Linked DNA regions of Homo sapiens: region 1 is linked to region 2. Evidence: promoter capture Hi-C in 16 types of primary human blood cells and fetal thymus (Javierre and others, 2016). All regions are on one chromosome and are shown on one strand. Each heading gives the region's core, a stretch centred on a gene start or on the middle of the fragment in contact. The rest is flanking DNA. Distances are from core to core; before and after follow the strand shown.

Region 1 (7,540 bases), core at 468-2,967, 1.1 Mb after region 2:
AGATGAAGAAACCAAGGCAGAGAGAAATTAAGTATTTTGTTCAAGGTTACAGCAGCCAGTTAGTAGCAAAACAGAGACTGCCAGCAACCTAGGGGTCCAGACTCATGGCTCTTAATCACCTATTCTTGACTGCAGGGCTGTCTAACAAAAATATAAGCTGAACTATATATGTTGTTTTAAATTTTCTAGTAAACACATTAAAATGTCAAGAGGGGCAGTTAAAATTGGTTTTAAACATATTTTATTGGCTGAGTGTGGTGTGTGGTGGCTCATACCTGTAATCCCAGCACTTTGGGAGGCCAAGTGGGAAGACTGCTTGAGGCTAGGAGTTTGAGACCATCTTGGGCAACATAGCAAGACCCTGTCTCTACAAAAAATTTAAAAATCAGCCAAGCATAGTGATGCCTGCCTGCAGTCCTAGCTACTTGGGAGGATACCTTAGACCTAGGAGTTTAAGGCTACTGTGAGCAATGATTGTGCCACTGCACTCCAGCATGGGCGACAGAGCAAGATCCTGTCTCTAAATAACAATAAAATAAAATTTTAAAAATTAATTAAGTATATTTTATTTCACCCATTATCCAAAATATGATCATTTAATCAATATGACCAATAACCAATGTAATTGATATAATCAGTACGATCATGTAATCAATATAAAAATTTCACTTTTTCCATACTAGTCTCCAACCCAAATGTGTCTTTATACTTACAGTATTTCTCAATTCAGACTAGTCACATTTCAAGCAATCAACAGCCTATGTGGCTAGTGGCTACGACATTCGGCAGTGCAGCTCTACTGCTCCTCGCAATGACCCTCCTATGGAATCAAAGTGGGGGAAAAACTTTGGGGTGGAAGTCAGTACGCCTGAGCTCAAATTCCAGCTCCTTGTTTCTGAGTGACTTTGGACAAGCCCTTTCTGCTCTCTAGGTCCCATACAGTTTCCCCACAAGTTTCCTAGGCAAGGGGGACCCTGAGCAAGATTCCTAGAAACTCATTCCATGCTAGAATTCCCAACATCTCCTGCAAATCGCAGTAAACACAAGCACAGCTTTCCACACTTTAAAACCAGCTTTCATACATATCAGTTGGTACAGTCCTCAAACAACCCTACTAAGGCAGTTATTAGTGTCTCCACTATATAGATACAAAAACTTGGTTCAAAGAGGGGGGGAATGACTTGTCCAAAAGCCACATAGCCAGTCAGTGGAGAAGCTGGAGATCAAATCCAAGTGAGACCAGTGCACTCCCACCGCCGCCACCACCATCACCTCAATGACTGGGGGGACATGAGAGCTGAGAGGACATGGTTGTGAAAAAAAGGATAGTCTGGGGTTTCAGAGGAGTTTCAGGGAACCAGGCCCCAGGGTGAGGAAGAGGAGGTGAAGGGCTCAGGTCTTGAGAAGGGATGAATCGAAAGGGCCCAGGAGGGCTTCGGAGAGCAAAGTAAAACGAGGGGCTGAGACCCCGGGTGGCATGAGAAGTTAGAGGGCCCGGGAGTGAGGCGAGAGGAGGTGAGATGAAAGGGCTCTGGCTCCTGCGACCCCTGCCCAGGTGAGAACGCGGTCGCTCGGCCCTCCCTGCCCCTCATACCTGGTAGCTCAGAAGTTCGCCCACGTCCATGGTACCCGGCCCAGCAAATACTCCACTTCCCTGCACTCACGCCCAGACCGCGGGCCCGTCAGCCGCGGCTCCAGCCACACTGCCGTAAAGTGCGGCGAGCGGAGCCGCAGAGCCAATAGGGCAAAAGTGCGAGCGACAAGCGAGCCGGCCACACCGCGGTAAAAGGACGCGCCGCCGTAAAGCGCGCTGCATTTGGAACAGGGTTGCTTCCGCCTGGAGCCTGAGGGGGCGGGGAAAGGGGGCGGAGACTTAGAGGAGGGGCGGGAGGGGAGAGCAGGGACCAGAAGAAACCAAACTTGATTGCGCGTCCCTAGTGTCCAGGGCGGAGTGCCGGGTGTTTCGTGTGCGCTCTCACGAGCTTCCAGTGATTTATCCTCATTTCACAGAAAAGGAAACTGACGCTCCCAACTGCACCATCCAATACTTTACTCACTAGCCACATATGGCTACCGAGCGCTTGAGATATGGCTACTCCGAAGTGAGATGTGCCATAAGTGTAAATAAAATACACACCAGATTTCTAAGACTTACATTGATTACAGGTTGAAATGATATTTTGGATATACTGGGTCAAATTCATATATTATAAAATGAATTTTACCTGTTTCTCTTTACTTCTTAAATGTGGTTAGTAGAAAGTTTTAAATTACACATGTGGCTCTCATTTGTGGTTCCCATTAATTTCTATCAGATAGTGCTGGCTCAAAAAGTGACTTGTTCCAAGGCTGTACAACTATTACTGGCTGAGAAACTATTGGTGATCACATGTCCCTCTCTAGGCTTGTGTCTGCTCATCTATGCGAAGTCTAACGGTCACTAGATGATCCCCTTGCTACCCAGGTGATATAAAAAGGTTTCTGGAGGAGAAAGTTGCCCATAATTGGAAGAGAATCATTCAGAGTGCATCTGATCTTAAACAAGATCAGAATGCACCTGGGACTTAAGGCTCCATCTTCAAAGGAAATTAAACCTCCTTCCATAAGCCCCTGTCCTTTATATTTATAATTATATTTATGTATTATATTATATTTATATGCCCTTCATATTTATAATTTTGGTCCCCATCCCATCTGCACTGGCTCCAATTATACAGAAATTATTCTTATTCCTCAGAATGACAAATCCTCTCCCCTTCTGCCTGGCCATCAGCACCATACCTCATCCAATTCTCTCATCTTTCGGGTCTCAAATGTCACTTTCTTACAAGGGCTTCTTCAACTCACCCTGGTCCAGGTAATCAACCTCTCTCCTCATTATTCTTTTTCCAAGTACCTGCTCCACTACGTATATATCTCATTCTGTAATTTTGTGCTTAATGGTTGACTATTTGTTTCTTGACAGCCTCATTTACTGGATTGCAAGCTCTATGCAAGCAGGACATGTGTGTGTCATGTTCACCACTGTATCCCCCAAGCCTAGTACAGTGCCTGGTAGAGGGAGAGGTTTCATAATGGGCCTTGTGTGCCATGGTAAAGAGATTAGATTTTGGCTAGGCGTGGCCGGGCGTGGTGGCTCACGCCTGTAAGCTCAGCACTTTAGGAGGCCAAGGCGGGCAGATCACTTGAAGTCAGGAGTTTGAGACCAGCCTGACCACCATGGTGAAACCTCGTCTCTACTAAAAATTACAAAAATTAGCTGGGCATGGTGGCACATGCCTCTACTTGGGAGGCTGAAGCAGGAGAATCGCTTGAACCCAGGAGGCAGAGGCTGTAGTGAGCTGAGATTCCACCACTGCACTCCAGCCTGGGTGACAGAGCAAGACTCTGTCTCAAAAAAAAAAAAAAAAAAAAGAGAGAGAGATTGGATTTTATGCTAACGGCATAAGGAAAGTTTTAAGCAAGGTAGTTTTGTGACTGGGCTTATGTTTTTAAAGGATCACCTATGCAATCTGCATTGAATTCAGTCTATTTGGGTGTCTTTCCCCCTCCTACTTATATAAGAATATGGACTGTGCCCGGCCGGGTGTGGTAGCTCACGCCTGTAATCCCAGCACTTTGGGAGGCCGAGGAGGGCAGATCACGAGGTCAGGAGATTGAGATCTTCCTGGCCCACATGGTGAAAACCCATCTCTACTAAAATACAAAAAATTAGCCAGGTGTGGTGGCACGTGCCTGTAGTCCCAGCTACTTGGGAGGCTGAGGCAGGGGAATCGCTTGAACCAGGGAGGTGGAGATTGTAGTGAGCCAAGATGGCACCACTGCACTCCAGCCTGGCGACAGAGCAAGACTACGTCTCAAAAAAAAAAAAAAAAAATAGAATATAGACTGTGCCTTGTTTGGGAAGACAGGAGAGAGTAATGGTGAGGGTGTACCCTTTGGACCCAGACCCCTGTGTTCTAGTTCATGGTATGTTGATGCCAGCTTGCACAGACAGGTCTACAAAAGCCCATGGTTAAATTTGTAGGAAACTTGCAAGCTGATTGACACCAGGTTGATAGCTTGAAATCAGCCATGCTAGGAGTATTTGTACAATGTAAATCAGCAAATGCTACAAATCAGGGTTGTTAATGTTGTTGTTTTTCCAGAGAGCTACTTGTAGGGTTTTTTTGTTTCTTTGTTTGCTTTTGAGACAAGCTCGGGCTCTATCACCCAGGCTGGAGTGCAGTGGCGGGATCTCAGCTCACTGCAACCTCCCCCTCCCGGGCTGAAGCCCACCTCAGCCTCCCAAATAGCTAGGACTACAGGCGTGCGCCACCATGCCTGGCTTATTTTGTTGTTGTTGTTGTTGTTGCTGTTGTTGTAGAAATAGAGTTTCACCATGCTGCCCAGGCTGGTCTCAAACTCATGAGCTCAAGCAATCCCCCCGCCTTGGCCTCACAAAGTGCTGGGATTACAGGCATGAGCCACTGCACCCAGCCGAGCCAGTTGTTAAACATCTACCCAACACACCCTGATTCTGGTTCTAGTGGAAGTTCCACCATATCTAGCCATGGGTCCTTGGGTAAGTTACTTTCTCTGTCCCTAAATTACACTTTCCTTATCTGTAACATGACTCATTCATTCATTCATTCATTCAACAAGTATTTACTGAGAGCCTACTCAATGCTAGGCACAATTCTGGGCTCTGAGGATATGGAAGTTTATAAAACAAAGCTCCTGCCTTCTGGAAACCTACATTCTAGTTTGGGTGAAAACCTCATGGAGAAAATGTTGATATGAGTCTTATTTTACAGATGTGGAAACAGTGGCAATGAACTTCACCTCTACATGCCTGATTTTCTCACCTGCAAAGTGGAGATTCAACCAAATCTACCTCATAAGGTTATGGAGGGTTTACATGAAATGCTGTATGCAAAGCACTTGGCACAGTGCCTGGCACAGAAAAGTGCTGTGTGTCTTATATTAATATTGTAAGGAGTTGGCAGCTGGGCACGGTGGCTCATGTCTGTAATCCCAGAGCTTTGGGAGACCAAGGCGGATCCCTTGAGCCCAGGAGTTCGAGACCAGCCTGGGCAACATAGTGAGACCCTGTCTCTACAAAAAAATAGAAAAAAAATTTAGCCAGATGTGGTGGCACGTGCCTGTAGTCTCGGCTACTCAGGAGGCTGAGGCTGGAGAATCACTTGAGCCCAGGAGGCAGAGGTTGCAGTGAGCCAGGATTGTGCCACTGCATCCTGGGTGACAGAGCAAGACCTTGTCTCTCAAAAAAAAAAAAAAAAAAAAGAAAGAAAAAGGAGTTGAGTGGGATAGGGGCAAGGGAGAGGGCAGGAAGAATGAGAGAATTCCTTATAACCTTTCCTTTTTAGGCAATCAGTCTTGTCTGTTTTTGTAGAGACCAGTTCTAAAACACAGAATTATAAGGCAAAATCCTATAAGAACCAGGTTTGGTGAGCACCCTGAACTGGGGCTAATGTGCTCTGCTAGAGGTTTCCCTGAGAACGTAACATCTGGACAGGGGTTTAAAGGGAAAGAAGAGTTTACCAAGAAGATACAGTGGGAGAATGGTGACCCAGGCAGAGGGAACAGCATGAGCAAAGACAAGGCAATTGGACCCTTCCTTGTGGACAGAGCTTCAAATGTGTGGAAGAAAAGGTGGAGAGGCTGGCTGGAGAAGATCACGAAGAGGGTTAACAGATTTAGCAAATAAAAATACAGGACACCCAGTTAAATCTGAATTTCAGACAAATAATGAATTTTTTATAAATTTGTCTCATGCAATATTTAATAACATACTAAAAATGTTTTCTGTCTGAAATTCAGAATTAAATGGGCATTATTTATTTTATCTGGCAACCCTAATCTTGGAGAAACTTGAATGCCAGATTAAGATATTTTCATTTTATCTTGATGAGAGGGTCCATTAATAATTCTTTGGGAACCCCCAGGAATGAGACTTGGGGCGCTCACCCTTCAGGTCTCAGCTTAATTGCACACATCAGAGGAATCTTTCCTGACCACAAGATTTAAGACAGTTCCTCCCCTTCAAGATTCTCTATCAGCATTCCTGACCATTATTATCTTCAGAACACTTATTGTTTTTGTTTTTATATTTGTTTGCTTTTTACCCATTTGTGGACTGCTTTCCCTTCCAGATTCTAAGCTCCAGAAGAGCAAAGATTGCTGTATCATTTACCACAGTAAACTCAGAACCTAACACAGTACCTGGCACTTAATTGTTACTCACTAAATAGTTGTTGATTTAATAAATGAACCAACTAATCTACTGATTGATTGATTCATTAATTCCTGGTCATAACAATCTCAAATACCTTCAAATTCTCACCCAAAGGCCAGGTGTGATGCCTCCTACCTATATAATCCCAGCACTGTGGGAGACCAAGACAGGAGGATCCCTTGAGGCCAGGAGTTTGAAACCAGCCTGAGAAACAAAGTAAGACCCTGCCTCTACAAAATAAAAATAAAAATATTAGCTGGGTATGGTGGCATGTGCCTGGAATCCCAGCTACTCAGGAGGCTGAGGTGGGAGGATCACTTGAGCCAATGATGTTGGGGCTGCAGTAAGCCAAGATCACACCACTGCACTCCAGCCTGGGCAACAGAGCAAGATCCTGTCTCAGAAAAAAATTTTTTTTTTACTTCTCACCCAAAATCCTAACAATGTGACTATTTCAATTTTAAAGACAAAAAAAGGAATGCTCAGAAGAGCTATGTGCTATGCACCAAGCAGAATGAAATTGTGACGATAATGATTTCAGAGTGGCATCCAGGAGGGAGTTAGGAGAAGAGCACCATTCAAGAGACCAACTGCTGGGCTGTAACCTTTAAAAAAAATGTGGAAGAATTACCCCTTCCAGAAAGCTTTTAAATAGCCATGGGCTGCCTAGGTTCCTTAAACTTCACACTTTAGATGCTCCAAAGTGTAATCAGAGTCACCTTCTCCATTTTTCATTGCCCAGTAAATTATTTATTGGAAGAGCCTTTAAGAAAATATTCTCAAAAACACACTTATAAAATATATTTATCATCAATATTGAGCTCCTACCCTACAATCTTGGGTTGATTTGAAACATACGAGACTGCTGAAGAAATCCTGACTCTTCCAATCAGTACCTGAATGGGTGGGGAAGAGTTACAGAGTGGGCAATGGAAAGGGGAACCTGTTTTCTGGGGAGCAGAATGCAATTTCTGGGGCTCAGGAAGAGTCTGTTCCCTCTGCTTCTTATTCCCAACATCCAGGTCCATGGGTCCCCTGTACTGTCATATTTTTAAATAATTGTGAAAACTGAGATCTGGAGTTTAGCTCCTTGCCCACAGTCATAGTTAGTAACTGGCAAGACTCCAAACCAAGTCTGTCTGACTACGTGTTTCACAGTAGGGATTTGGGCTCAGTTAACCTTTCAAATAGTACTGACACTTATGATCCAGGCACAGGAGATTATTGACTGCTAACGAGTAATTATCTCTCCCAGCAGGCACAGGTCTCAATTAGACACAAGGAGAATTTATGTTCCTAGAC
Region 2 (7,149 bases), core at 9-2,508:
GCCTCATCTAAGCCACCATCATCCCTTACCTGGGTTATTCCAACAGCCTCCTAACTCGTCCCTGTTTCCACCCTATGATCCAAGACAATTCATTCTCCATACAGCAGTAATAGTGATCCTTTTAAAACACAAGTCAGGTCCTTCTTCAGCTCAACACCCTGCCATGGCTCCCCATTTCACTCAGTAAAAGCCTATAAGGTGTGTGATCTGCCTCTCCACTACCTCTCTGACATCCTCTTTCAGGTACTACTCTCCCCCTCACACAGGCAGCCTTGCAGTTAGGATTAGGGCACACTCCTGCCTCGGGGCCTTTTTACTGGCTGCTCCCTCTGCCTGGACCGTTTTTCCTTCAGATATTCACATGGCTTGCTACCTGAATCACCTCCTTCAAGTCCTTGCTCAAACATCACCTTCACGAGTCCTACCCTGACCATCTTACTGAAAAAATGTAACTCCCTCCTCTCCTATCACGGCGTAGAATCTACTATTTCTATGTTTACTGTCTGCCTTTTCATACTAGAATATCTTTCCATAGTATTAACAGCTCCATAAGCACAGGAAGTTTTGTGTTCACACATGTACTCCAAATGCCTAAAAAGTGCCTGACACAGAGTAAGTGCTCAATACGTATTTGTTAATAAATGGGCTTCTTAACAAACAAGCATATATGCCCAAAGGTATGCTCCAAGATACAAGGAGCAGCATTTTATTCGCTGCTACACCCACAGCGCCTAGCATCTGGTCGACTAAAAGACAATCGGAGCTACTGAAGTGACTGTTACCTCTCCGAGAGCAGAGTGAGCGGAGACGAGACCGCACCCCTCCCCTCAAACCCAGCCCAGCCCAGCCTACTCCGCCCTTCACCTGTGAGGAGACACCCAGGTGCTGGAAGCTGTAGTCCAGCAGCAACTCCTGAAGCTCCAGGTTGACCGGCACGTTGCGGTCGAAGGGCGAGCGCAGCATCCAGCGCAGTGGCTCCAGGCTGCCCAGAGCGTTCCCCACCTGCGGGCCCGACGCGCCCCGTGCCCCGCCACGACCGCGGGCGCACACCGCGCGGAACTGCAGGCGCGGCTCGGGACCTGGGTCCTGCCCGGGACACGCCCAGCCAGCGCGGACTTGGAACGACCCGTTGTCCAGCACCAGCGGTACCGGCAGTGGCCCGTGTGCCACCGGGCCGGCCTCCAGCACTGGGTCCGGTGCGGCACGGGCGTCGCGGAACGGGAACACGTTCGCCGCCATCTTGGAGCGCGCGTCCAGCCCCGCCCCTCGGCGCAGTGTCCGCCCAGACGCCGCGAAACCGCGCCCCCGACGTCACGCCGCGCGATTCAGGCCTTTAAGTACCTCGATGCCCCCTCCCTTCTCGAAGCCCGGCCAGCCTTTCCACTTGACTCGCCTCTGGCTGTCAAGGCTGCTTTCAGGATCGCTGAGACGTACCCATTCTGGCTGCGAAATTCTACGTTTCTTAACCTCTCCCCCAATAGCCTATGAGTGCCCACGCCCCTTCACTCTAGCCGGGACGCCCGGTTTGGAAGCCCCGCCCCAAAGCCTATCGCCGCCAGGCCCCGCCCCTTTCTGGCTGCCAGCTTCAGCGCCGCGCTCGGTGGAGCCCCGCCTCTCTGCCTGGCCACGCCCCATTGCCGGGCGCGCACCGTCGGCCGGGCGCGCACCGTCGGCCGGGCGCGCACCTTCGACCGCCGGCGGCCCCGCCTCCGCGTGGCTGTCTCGCCCTCAGTCTTGCGTCCTGGCTAGAAGGGTCCTTTATCTTTTGACGCTTCCTTTACGTTAAGAAATCTCAAACTCTGCCGACTGTTCAATTTCTTGACTAGGGAGCTGACTACTCAGTTCTGTTCACTTTACTAACTCGCACAGACTGTGTCTTCTCACTAAGACACAGTGTTTTCTCAAACCCTGAGAAAAGACTGCTGATTGTTCCCCAAGCATTCCCTCTCTTTTAGTGGCATCACCTCCCACTCCCACGTGGCCATCCGTCTGGCTGCGATCTAGATGCGCTCATGTGACTAAATTCTGGCCAGGAGCGGGTGGGAGAGGAGGCCATGTGTGTGACCCACTCAGTTTTAGCCCTAAAAGCACTCGTCGCGCTCTATCCTGTCGCATTTCCATCTTTTCACTAGCTAAGGGGGTAAGAATTAGAGCAGTTGTTTTACTACAACCTTTTTTTGTGCAGTGGGGCGATCTCGGCTCACTGCAGCCTCGACTTCCTGGACTCAAGTGATTCTCCCGCCTCAGCCTCCTAAGTAGCTGAGATTACAGGCGTGCACCACCACGCCCAGCTAATTTTTATATTTTTAGTAGAGAAGGGATTTCACTATGTTGCCCATGCTGGCCATAACCATTTTGAAAGAAGAAAAAGAATAGAGCAGCTGCCTTGAATCTACTCTACCAGGTCTATAACACTTCAGTTTGAGAGATAAAATCAAATTAGTTACAAAAGATATTGTAAGCGAGAAATGAAACTCCTAACTTATCTCAAGAACCTCTATTAACAGTGTTTGTTGTTGTTGTTGTTTGTTTTTTTTAAGACGGAGTCTGGCTCTGTCACCCAGGCTGGAGTGCAGTGGTGTGATCTTGGCTCACTGCAACCTCCACATCCCCGGTTCAAGCAATTCACCTGCCTCAGCCTCCCGAGTAGCTGGGATTACAGGCATGCTCCACAACACCCAGCTAATTTTTTTTATTTTTAATACAGACGGGATTTCGCCACGTTGGCCAGGCTGGTCTCGAACTCCTTGGCTCAAGTGATCCGCCTGCCTCGGCCTCCCAAAGTGCTGGGATTACAGGCTTGAGACGACGGGCCCAGCCTGTTAACACACCTAAACCAGATTGGGAGCCAGCCCAGTGGCAAAAATCAGGTTGTGTTGTCTTTCAACACACGTCCATTGTTCAGATATCTGAAGTAACCATCGTTAAGTTAATTAAGAGGGGGACCAGCAGAACACAGAAACCAGTAAATGTAAGTTAGTGAATGTTAATTTAAGAATTGTGTCTATGTATATTAATATGAAAAAGCACTGGCTGGGCGCAGTGGCTCACACCTGTAATCCCAGCACTTTGGGAGGCCGAGGCTGGTGGATCGCCTGAGGTCGGGAGTTCGAGACCAGCCTGGCCAACATGGTGAAACCCCGTCTCTAGTAAAAATACAAAAATTAGCTGGGCATGGTGGCAGGTGTCTGTAATCCCAGCTACTTGGGAGGCTGAGGCAAGAGAATCGCTTGAACCCTGGAGGCGGAGGTTGCAGTGAGCCGAGATCACGCCAGTGCACTCCAGCCTGAGCAACAAGAGTGAAACTTTGTCTCACAAAAAAGAAAAAAAGAAAAGCACCAAGGTAAATATATATATTATATATATTATTATTTTATATATATATGAGAGGCAACTCCAACGGGGATGGCCAGTGTGGTGGCTCATGCCTGTAATCCCAGCACTTTGGGAGGCTGAGGTGGGAGGACTGCTTTAGCCCAGAAGTTCAAGACCAGCCTCAACCTCACTAGTAGTTGGGACTACAAGTGCACACCACCACATAGAGACAGAGTTTTGCCATGTTGCCCAGGCTGGTCTTTATAAGCGTTTGGCACATGAGGTAGATTGGATTATTATTCCCAGTTCTTCATTCCTTTACTTTTTTTTTCTTCACTCCTTTATAGTAGGATGATACATCCATACCATTTGCCTTGTAACTTTGTAGAGCCTCTCCTTGAGGACACTGATATTAGGCTTGGTCATGTGACTTGCTTTAGCCAATGGACTGTTAACTGAATATGATTGGTTTAGATTGCCTTCTTGCACTCCTGCTTTTAGTCATGAGAGGAACATACCTGAGTCCAAAGAGGATAAGAGATACATGGAGCAGATCTGAACCTAAACTGCAGTCCGAAGCCAAGTCCAGCCAACCTGCAACCTAAAGTTGAGCTGCCCCATGGACCTCTGAACAAGAAAAATGTTTATTCTTATAAACCACTGAAATTCTGGAGTTGCTATGCAGTATTATTGCAGGAGAAAACCGACTAATACACTAGACCAATGCTGTCCAACAGAACTTTGTACATTGGAAATGTGCAAATTGATGGAGATGATCTAGTATCTGTTGTGTCTAACACAGTGGCCAGTAACCACATGTGGCCGCAGAGCACTTGAAATGTGAATAGTGTAACTGAAGAACTGAATTTTTAAAATGTTCTTAATTTTAATTTTTCTTTCTTTCTTTCTTTTTTTTTTTTTTTTGATGGAGTTTCGCTCTTGTCACCCAGGCTGGAGTGAAGTGGCACAATCTCGGCTCACTGTAACCTCTGCCTCCCAGGTTCAAGCGATTCTCCTGCCTCAGCCTCCCGAGTAGCTGGGATTACAGGCATGCACCACCACACCCCGGTAATTTTTGTATTTTCATTAGAGACAGGGTTGCACCATGTTGGCCAGGCTGGTTGTGAATTCCTCACCTCAAGTGATCTGCCCACCTCGGCCTCCTAAAATGCTGGGATTACAGGTGTGAGCCATTGCACCCAGCCTTAATTTTAGTTTAAATTTAAATAGTCATGTAGCTAGTGGCTACTCTATTGCACACTGTAGCACTAGACAAAATCTAGGGCTGTAAAGATTTACCCATGGAAATGACTAGAAAAAAATACATTAGGCTGGGTGCAGCGGTTCACGCCTGTAATCCCAGCACTTTAGGAGGCCGTGGGGCAGATCACTTGAGGTCAGGAGTTCGAGACCAGCCTGGCCAACATGGAGAAAGCCTGTCTTTACTAAAAATACAAAAAATTAGCTGGGCATGGTGGTGCACACCTTTAGTCGCAGCTACTCAGGAGGCTGAGGCACAAGAATCACTTGAACCTGGAAGGTGGAGGTTGCAGTGAGCTGAGATTGTGCCACTGCACTCCAGCCTGGGCAACAGAGCAAGACTCTGTCTCAAAAAAAATGCTTTAGAAGCCTACTGTATTATTTTCCTAGCTGCTGTAACATAGTACCACAAAGTAGGATGACTTGAAACAAGAGAAATTTATTTTCTTACACTTCTGGAGGCAGAAGGCTAAAATTAAGGTGTCGGCATGGCCATGCTCTTCTTGAAGGCTCCAGGGTAGTATTTGTTCCACAGCTTTCTCTTAGCTTCCTGGTGCTGTCAGCTATGATGGTTGGTTTTATGTCAGCCTTTCTGGCTGCCCAGATATTTGGTCAAACATTTTTCTGGGTGTTTTCTATGGAGTGCTTTAGGATGAGATGAACATTTCAATCAGTAGACTGAGTAAAGCAGATTTCCCTTCCTAATGTGAGTGGGCCTCATCCAATCAGTTCAATAGAACAAAGAGGCTGACTCTCCCTGCCTGAATGGCTTTGGACTGGGACATCAGCTTTTTTCCTTTTTTTTTTTTTTTTTTTTTTTGAGACAGAGCTTCACTCTTGTTGCCCAGGCTGAAGTGCAATGACACGATCTCGGCTCACCGAAACCTCTACCTCCCAGGTTCAAGCAATTCTCCTGCCTCACCCTCCTGAGTAGCTGGGATTACAGGCATGTGCCACCATGCCCTGCTAATTTTGCATTTTTAGTAGAGACAGGGTTTCTCCATGTTGGTCAGACTAGTCTTGAACTCCCGACCTCAGGTGATCCACCCGCCTTGGCCTCCCAAAGTGCTGGAATTACAGGCATGAGCCGCCGCCCAGCCTTTCCTGCCTTTAGACTTGAACTGAAACATAGACTCTTCCTTGGTCTCAAGACTGCTGACCTTCAGACTGGAACTACACTACTAAGGCCAGTTCTCAGGCCTTCGGACTTGGACTCTGATATGGTTTGGCTCTGTGTCACCACGGAGATCTCGTGTTGAATTATAATTCCCAGCGTTGGAGGTGGGGCCTGCTGGGAGGTGATTGGATCATAGGGTGGTTCTAATGGTTTAGCACCATGGACCTGGCTGGTCTTGTGGTAGAGTTCTCACAAGATCTGGTTGTTTCTCCCTTCGCTTGCTCTCTCCTGCTCCACCATGTGAAGATAGTACTTGCTTCCCCTTTGCCTTCCACCATGATTGTTAAGTTTCCTGAGGCCTCCCCAGAAGTGAAGCTTGTATAACCCGCAGAACCATGAGCCAATTAAATCTCTTTTCTTTGGAAGTTACACAGTCTCAGGAACTTCTTTATAGCAGGGCGAGAACGGACTAATACAGACTCAGACTAGAACTAAACCATTGGCTCTCCTGGGCCTCCAGCTTTCCAACTCACCCTGAAGATCTTAGAACTTGCTTACCTCTGTAACTGAGTAACCCAATTCCATGTAGTGTGTGTAAGTATGTATACATATATAATATTAGTTCTCTTTCTCTGGGGAATCCTGACGAACACACCTGCAATCCTCAGTGACGAACACACCTGCAATCCTCAGCATTGCTTGGCCTCTCCAGTCTCTGCTGCCGTCATCATGTGGTGCTCCCCTTGAGTGTATCTGTCTCTTTTCCTCTTCTTTTTATTTTTTAATTTTTTTTTTTTTTTGAGATAGAGTCTCGCTCTGTTGCCCAGGCTGGAGTGCAGTGGTGCCATCTTGGCTCACTGCAACCTCTGCCTCCCAAGTAGCTGGGATTACAATCATGCGCCACCACGCCCAGCTAATTTTTTGCATTTTTAGTAGAGACAGGGTTTCACCATATTGGCCAGGCGGGTCTCGAACTCCTGACCTTGTGATCCACCTGCCTCGACCTCCTACAGTTTTGGGATTACAGGTGTGAGCCACCACGCCCAGCCCACTTTTCCTCTTCTTCTAAGAGCACCAGTCTTATTGGATTAGGGCCCCACCCTACTTCAGTATGAGCTTCACTGATTATATCTGTACTATGTACCTGCAACAACTATATTTCTAAATGAGGGCACATTCACGGATGTAGTGAATCAGAACCCACATTAAATACACCTTCTATTTGGTTTAAGTTATGGCCATGTTGGCTCCTGTCCTAAGTAACACACACACACACACAGGTGATCATATGATGTATCTAGTCTTGTTCCTTAGAGAGCCTTCATGACAGGACTCAGACGGTAGAACTATCAGAAAACTGTTCCAAGGAAACCATGTGCCATGCATTCTGCCTGCAGCTTGGTGGGGAGGATGTGATGAGAACAGGTATCAAATTAGGCTGTTGAACCTTAATTCAT

The links. The method cuts DNA at HindIII sites, captures the fragments that hold promoters and counts their contacts. A CHiCAGO score of 5 or more calls a contact.
Region 1: the fragment with the promoter of CTNNBL1 here is called in contact with the fragment with the promoter of ACTR5 in region 2 in 1 of 17 cell types (neutrophils); the score reaches 5.6 in neutrophils.

The regions. Positions count from the first base shown.
Region 1 is chr20:37,688,207-37,695,746 of GRCh38, reverse strand. CTNNBL1 (catenin beta like 1) reads right to left here and starts at 1,717. Exons shown (of 16, transcript NM_030877.5): 1 at 1,595-1,717. The coding sequence starts at 1,624. LOC105372609 (a long non-coding RNA gene) reads left to right here and starts at 4,471. Exons shown (of 4, transcript XR_936703.1): 1 at 4,471-4,564; 2 at 4,797-4,884. RefSeq lists an enhancer at 1,380-1,439. The HindIII fragment of the contact is 18,373 bases long and covers 1-6,884 here.
Region 2 is chr20:38,742,569-38,749,717 of GRCh38, reverse strand. It overlaps ACTR5 (actin related protein 5), which reads right to left and starts at 1,258. Exons shown (of 9, transcript NM_024855.4): 1 at 865-1,258. The coding sequence starts at 1,239. RefSeq lists silencers at 1,023-1,212, 1,513-1,782 and an enhancer at 1,161-1,662. The HindIII fragment of the contact is 9,906 bases long and covers 1-6,069 here.